Regions from separate parts of the Homo sapiens genome. Here region 2 is linked to region 1. The links are contacts of gene promoters, found by promoter capture Hi-C in human tissues and cell types (Jung and others, 2019). All regions are on one chromosome and are shown on one strand. Each heading gives the region's core, a stretch centred on a gene start or on the middle of the fragment in contact. The rest is flanking DNA. Distances are from core to core; before and after follow the strand shown. Region 1 overlaps TSEN54 (tRNA splicing endonuclease subunit 54). Region 2 holds the start of ITGB4 (integrin subunit beta 4).

Region 1 (3,357 bases), core at 811-3,310:
GCTGCCTCTCATACGGGGACAGGACAGAGCTGTGGGGTGAGAACAGCGGGTGGGCCACTGACCCACCTCCTCAGCCTGGGGATCTGGTGGGATGTGTAAGGAAACGGGCCAAGAGGACAGTCAGTGGGCCAGGATCGGAGCCACACCCAAGTGCTAAGGCCCTAAGCAGACCCCCATGAGGGGTACAGGCCCAGCCAGGGGGCCCAGCCATGTGCCTCTGCCTAGGCAATGGCCCAGAGGAGCTAGCAAACTTGGTAAATATAGAAAAATAAAAACCTTGGATAACTATTGTTAACATCTTTCTTTCGTTTATGTACACACTAATCTCTCTCCATATATTTTTTTCTAACAAAAATGTCATTGTACTAGCATACTGCTTTGTGATCTTTTTTTTCACTCAATAATATATTGTGGACACAGCCCCGTCACTGCAGCATTCTTCCCTGCTGTGAATTTTTTCCTTTTTCTTTTTTTTTTTTTTTTGAGACACAGTCTCGTTCTCTCACCGGGCTGGAGTGCAGTGGCACAATCTTGGCTCACTGCAACCTCCATCTCCTGGGTTCAAGCGATTCTCCTGCCTCAGCATCCCGAGTAGTACCGGGACTACAGGCGCGTGCCACCATGCCCAGCTAATTTTTGTATTCTTAGTAGAGACAAGGTTTCACCATGCTGGCCGGGATGGTCTCCATCTCCTGACCTCATGATCCACCTGCCTCGGCCTCCTAAAGTGCTGGGATTACAGGTGTGAGCCACTGTGCCTGGCCTCCTGGCTGTGAATTAAGGCTTTAAGGCAATGCTGTTCAAAAAAGAGCCACTAGCGACAGGTGGCTATTTAAGTTTGCTTTTTTTTTTGAGATAGAGTTTCGCTTTTTCGCCCAGGCTGGAGTGCACTGGCAAGATCTCGGCTCACTGCAACCTCAGCTGCCCAGGTTCAAGCAATTCTCGTGCCTCAGCCTCCTGAATAGCTGGGACTATAGGCGCCTGCCACCACACCTGGCTGATTTTTTTTTTTTTTTTTTTTTGGTATTTTAGTAGAGACAGGGTTTCACCACGCTGTCCAGGCTGGTCTCGTACTCCTGAGCTCACGCGATCCGCCCGCGTCGGCCTCCCAAAATGCTGGGATTATAGGCGTGAGCCACCACACCAGCCTATTTAAGTTAGATTTAAATACATTTAAATTAAATGAAATTAAACATTCAGTCCCACAGTTGCTCTAGCCCCATGTATTAGACATCACAGACACAGAACATTTTCATCATTACAGAAAGTTCTATTGGACAGAGCTGCTCTAAGGGATAACCTCTCATTTGTGTGAGCCTGCCTCTTGTTCAACTCTTGTTTGCAAGTACACTGATTTTGCACAGTGAGTGTGTTCTGTGTGACTCCTCACTAAATGCAAGCTCTGTGAGGGCAGTGATTTTGCTCTTCTGTTCTCAGCGATGTGTACAGGGCCTGACCCCCAGCAAATAATAAATATCGTTGATCATTCTCACAGGTGAACCACTGTACACGTCCACGATTATTTCCTTAGGATAGGTTCCACTTTCAGAAAAGAAAAGATGTAGAGCTGGGCGTGGTGACTCATGCCTGTAATCCCAGCACTTTGGGAGGCTGAGGCGGGAGGATCATTTGAGGTCAGGAGTTCGAGACCAGCCTGGGCAACACAGTGAAACCCCATCTGTACTAAAAATAAAATAAAATAAAAAAATTAGCCAGGCATGGTGGCACACGCCTGTAATCCCAGCTACTTGGGAGGCTGAGGCAGGAGAACTGCTTGAACCCAGGAGGCAGAGGCTACAGTAAGCTGAGATCATGCCACTGCACTACAGCCTGGGCGACAGAGTGAGACTCCGTCTCAAAAAGAAAAGAAAAGATGTGCCTGCTTTAGAGCTTTTGTGACATACTGTAACTGCAAAAGCTGTACCCGTTTCCACTCCAAGTCTGAAGGTCTCTGCCTTTTACCAATGCTGGATTACTAAGGTGATGAAGGAAAAAACATTTAACCTGGCATGAAAAATGTGAAACCCTACTAATGGTAAATTCTTCACCCAGTCCTTCATTTAAGCATACACTCTACATACCTGCCTGCGCACCTACTAAGTGCCAGGCACTGTTCCAATCCTGCCTCTCAGTGCTCACACACACTCAGCTGCAGGCGCAGGTCATCTGAAGATGCGGCTCGAGTTCATAAACCAGAATAAAACAAAATGACCTGGATTCCTCCCAACCTGCCTCTCTCAGAACGCTTCCAGCAGGCGCCCCCAGTCTGTGCCCAAGGAACTGCACTCCAGCCAAGGGTTCCAGGTAAGGAGAGGCCATTTTCTACCTTAGACTAGTCAGCCAGGTCCCAGGACTAGAATATATGGAAGGGGAACAGGAAGGGGATTTACCTTGGTTGGAATCGTCGAACCACATAACCCAACCTCTTCAGGTGGCTGAAGACCTCAAAAGAAAAAAAAAAAATGAAAGCTCAGATGGCCACTCTGGAAAACACCAAATGGTTTCTCCAGACACAGGCCATCCCCACAGCCCTCTCTGCCCCTCCTGTACACCCCCAGATTCTAAACCCTGTGATTAAGGTTGGACCATGCTTCATTACGAACACCATCCCTAAAGATCTCAGGCTCTGAATTCCTGTCCTCCCACTTACCTTACTCGGCACAAATGACATTTAGCCAAATCCAAAAAAACTGATAGCCATGAAACCAGAAAACCACCACGCCCTGAAATACTTGAGTATTTTGATACAAAGCTCATAGGAGTGAAGCTGCCGATCACCATGTGAACAAAATGATGGCAGGTGGTGGGCATCTCTCCAGCCCCACACCTCCACAGATGCCGGTGGGAAGTTTCTGGTAGGGAGCCACATATTCAACCTTGTGTCCCTGCATTCATATCAGAGGAACATAGATAAGAATGTCCCCCATCCTGCTTGATCTCAGCAGGCTTTAGCACAGCTAACCACTTCCTCCTTGAAAGACCTTCTTTTGGCTTCTGTGATGCGACTTTGGTTTTTCTCCTGCATCACCAGACACTCCTCGGTCTGTTTCTGCTTCTTATCTGCCCCCTAACCTACACAGAGAGCCCCAGGGCTCAGACCCAGCCCTCTACTCTGATGGCACTCCCATACAGCCCAGTAGTTTAAATACCATCCATGTGCTCATGGCACCCATATTTACATCTAGCCTTGACCTCTCCTCACACTCCAGACTTGGATTCCAATTGTCTGTCTGCTTTACACTCACTTGGATGTCCAAGAAGCTCCTCAAAATTAACTTATCTGACACAGTTCTTTCGACTGGTCTTGTCCTCCCAAATCTGCTCCTCTTCATTCTTCCCACTCAGAAAATGACAGCA
Region 2 (3,583 bases), core at 116-2,615, 200 kb before region 1:
CTGCAGCACAGGCAGTTTCCCCCCCACAGGGACACACACACACACACACACACACACACACACACAGGCCATGCCCACCCACCCACAGGCTCAGAGCTCCCCTGGCCCCCATCCCAACCCCTGGGGACCCCTCTGGGCACACCTGCTCCTGTCCACTATCCTCTCCCGCTGTCACATCTCCTCCCCTCAGGGACCCAGGCCCTTCCTCGCCCCAGAGAGGCAGCTGGCCAGAAGTCTGGGGACCCCAGGCCCTTGGCTGTTCTGTCTCCCTGAGAAATCAGGGTCGAGTAGACAGACATACCTCCCCTCCTGTCCCTCCTGCTGTCCTTCCCTCAGCCCCCAGGATGGAGACTCCAAGCCTTCACTGCCAGCTCTGTTTCGGACAGCAACAACCATGCCACCTGTGCCTGGTCCTTGTCCTCAGGGTGTGGCAAGGCCATGGGGGCAGAGGAGAAGCCCTGTCCCTGCTCCTGGGAGTCACCAGGAGCCCCAGAGCCCCAGTCCCAGCCAGAGGGCCACCCCAGAGGCTGAGCCATGGGAAAGAGGGCGGATGCTGCAGGAGGTGGCAGTGTTGGGCACAGCCCTGGGGCTGGTGGGTGAGGCCTGTAGAGCTTCCTGAAGGAAGGCGCCTGGGGCTGACTTTGGGAGGAAGGCAGGCCTGTGCTTGGCCAAGAGAAAAGGAAAATCAGGGACTCCCCAGCCCCAGATGGACTGTGGCACCGCATAGAGCAAGCCCTGCCTGGAGCCGGGATGGCGTCTGCCTCTCAGGGTGGCTTTTAAAAGTAGGAGCCAATGTTAGAAAGAACGAAATTTCACATAAAAGTCAGGAATGTTGGTTTATCATTAGATGCGCCATGATGGGCTGGGCCCAGCACTCAGGCTGGTGTCTACTCCACCTTCTTTGCAAACCCTGGAGGGGCCCAGCCCCAGAGGGCTACCAGCCACTGGCCTCTGCCCACTTCTCCCGCAGGCGCACCCAAGGCGCTCCTCTGGCCTGGAGGTCTGATGGGCACCACCCTTCTCTAGCTGCCCTGCCCCTTGGCTGCCAGCTGCCCCCGGCGCACCCCGGGGAGGCTGGGCACCTGTCCTGCGCAGCGTGGACAGAGGGACCGGGGCCTGTCAGCCTTCAGGGAGGGGAAGGGGAGACAAAAGCCACCGGCCCTGCCCGACCAGCTCCCCTGCGCGGCTGCCCAGCTGGGGCGGGCACTCACCCTCTCCCGGCCAGCCTCGGCTGCTGCTGTGCGCCCGTCCTGGACCTACCTCGGGGCGGACTCGCTCCCTCCGCGCCTGGGCTGCCGCTAGGAGATGGGGCTGCAGCGCGCGGGCGAGCAGGGACTGTCCGAGGGCGGGCGCGGGGGTTGGGGGGGTGGGGACGAGGCGGGCAGCGCTTTATGGGGCGGGCGCGCAGGTAGGAAGGAGGCGCTGGTGAGTCAGACCGGCTGCATTCCTTCGCGCGGCGCGCACCTGTCGGGGCAGGAGCTGGGTGCCGCCGCCGGAGCCGGGTCCGCCCCCCGGAAAGGGCTGCGGCTCCCGCGGCGCCCGCCCAGCGCCCCGATCGGCTAGCGGCGGGGGCCGGGGGAGGAGCCACCGCTCTCCCTCTCCCTCCGGTCCGGCCCTGGGCGCGGGGCCTCCCCACCCCTCCAGGCTCCGGGCTCCAGGCTCGGGTGCGCGGACTGCCCCGGGCTGGAGGCGGCCTCTTAGCCCCCGTCCGCACGGGAACCCTCCCTGCCCCGACTCTGGGCCGCTAGCCAACGCCGGGCTGTGCTGCTGCTGCTGCCCCGACGGTCGTCAGCCGCGTACCCCCCTCCCCGCTCTCCGTGCCAGCGCGAGGCATGGGCCCAGGGAGTGCCCCCGGCCCGGTCGGGAGGCCTGACTCCCCGTCCCAGCTCTGCTCTGCAGTTCACGGGGTCCTCTCAGCCTCCAACCCCTAACCTCACGTTGTATCCAGAGGGAGAGCCGAGGAAGGGTCGGGTCCTCGGTGCACCCTTCAACAAGCTACTTAAATCTCCTTACAGTGTGAACAGTGATACCCTGGAGAGGTCAGTGCCGACCTGGCATGGATTGGCACTCGATGCCTTGTTACAGTTGTTCTTAACAAGCTGGTTACAGAGCTGGCCCCTCCCTCCCGTCAGTCCTCTGAGAGCAGTCTCTCCATTGCCACTGCTTACCACGGGTGTTCAGGTCAGAGAAGGGCTTCATTTTTCTTTTTCTTTTTGTTTTCTCTCTCTTTTTTTTTTTAGATGGAGTCTCACTCTGTCGCCGAGGCTGGAGTGCAGTGGTGCAATCTTGGCTCACTGCAACCTCTGCCTCCCGGGTTCAAGCGCTTCTCCTGCCTGTTTCCCGAGTAGCTGGGATTACAGGTGCCCGCCACCACGCCCGGCTAATTTTTGTATTTTTAGTACATCATGTTGGCCAGGCTGGTCTCGAACTCCTGACCTCAGGTGATCCACCCGTCTTGGCCTTCCAAAGTGCTGGGATTATAGGCGTGAACCACCATGCCCAGCCAGGGCTCCATTTTTCTCTAGGCTTACTGGCCAGCAATGCCAAACAACACCAGACTGCTGGCACAGCACTGTCCAAACCATGCGGTTTCAAGCCACCGTGCTTTTTCAACAGGCTGGTCCCTTCCCATGACATTGAGCCCAGTTTATCCTTCTTGTCCTTGAAGACGTTGCACCAACCACGTGCTAGAGAGCCTTCCTTGACCTCTCCACACCCCAAGTTGGTTTATGTGTCCCCATAACCCTTGGGCCATGGCTTTTACATGGCATTTGCCACATTGGTTTGAAATGATGTTTAGGAATCTCGCCACACTGTTGGACTGTGACTCCAAGGGCAGCTACTCTCTAGCACCTAGCACCATGCCTGGTGCATAGCAGGTGCTCAATAAAAGGGTGGTTGAGTGAATGGGATGGTCACACAGCCTCCCTGAGCCTCCATGCTGTCATCTGTAAACAGATTCCTCCACTGCTACCTCTCAGAGTGATTGCAGGGGTGCTGGTTGCAAATGTGTGAGTCGCCACCTTTCCTGGTCATCTGAGAGCTGTTCTGCACAGAGAAAGTGTTCAGAGAGGCTTGCTCCTGGATTTGGGAACAATGTGGAAGGAGTCCCAGTTTGGTTGAAGCACTCAGATCTGTGTGTGTCAGGCCAGCACAAGTGCCCTGTGGACCTGAGTCACTCCAGCAGGTACCTATCCACCCCAAAAAACAGAAACATGGAGCAGGAGCTCAGAGAACGGCCAAAAACAGCTTGCCTGAGGGGCCTGGGTCTGCCAGCAGCACCCATTAGAGAACTAGGGGGTCATATACACCCCACTGTGGGTGGGGGCTGAGGCTTCTTCCTAGAGAAGACCCAGGTCCAGAGCTGGCGATGCCCCAGGCCACTGGGCTCAGCAGCCCCTTCCTCTCTTCATTGCAAACCCTTCTGAAAATGACTAGGGGGCCTGGAGCCCTGTAGCAGCTGAGAGGCGAGATGTCAACCCAGGGAGGTCTCACTAAGTAAGATAAGCCATGAGCTTCCTTGGCTTCTCGGAGTCCTGGGGTTCATTACCTGGAGCCCGCATGTGGACTTGGCAGTGGGGAG

What was found. The method cuts DNA at HindIII sites, captures the fragments that hold promoters and counts their contacts. A contact is called where the count stands out against the background at its distance.
Region 2: a contact is called between the fragment with the promoter of ITGB4 here and a fragment that was not itself captured in region 1, in 2 of the 25 tissues and cell types used here (bladder and lymphoblastoid cells).

Annotation. Positions count from the first base shown.
Region 1 is chr17:75,518,081-75,521,437 of GRCh38, reverse strand. It overlaps TSEN54 (tRNA splicing endonuclease subunit 54), which reads right to left. Exons shown (of 11, transcript NM_207346.3): 6 at 2,391-2,443; 7 at 1-29. Among named protein-coding and RNA genes, the nearest start is that of TSEN54, 3.2 kb to the right of the region's middle. The HindIII fragment of the contact is 6,204 bases long and covers 1-3,357 here.
Region 2 is chr17:75,719,241-75,722,823 of GRCh38, reverse strand. ITGB4 (integrin subunit beta 4) reads right to left here and starts at 1,365. Exons shown (of 40, transcript NM_000213.5): 1 at 1,212-1,365. RefSeq lists enhancers at 545-1,083, 1,084-1,622 and silencers at 1,343-1,732, 1,743-1,802. The HindIII fragment of the contact is 11,256 bases long and covers 1-3,583 here.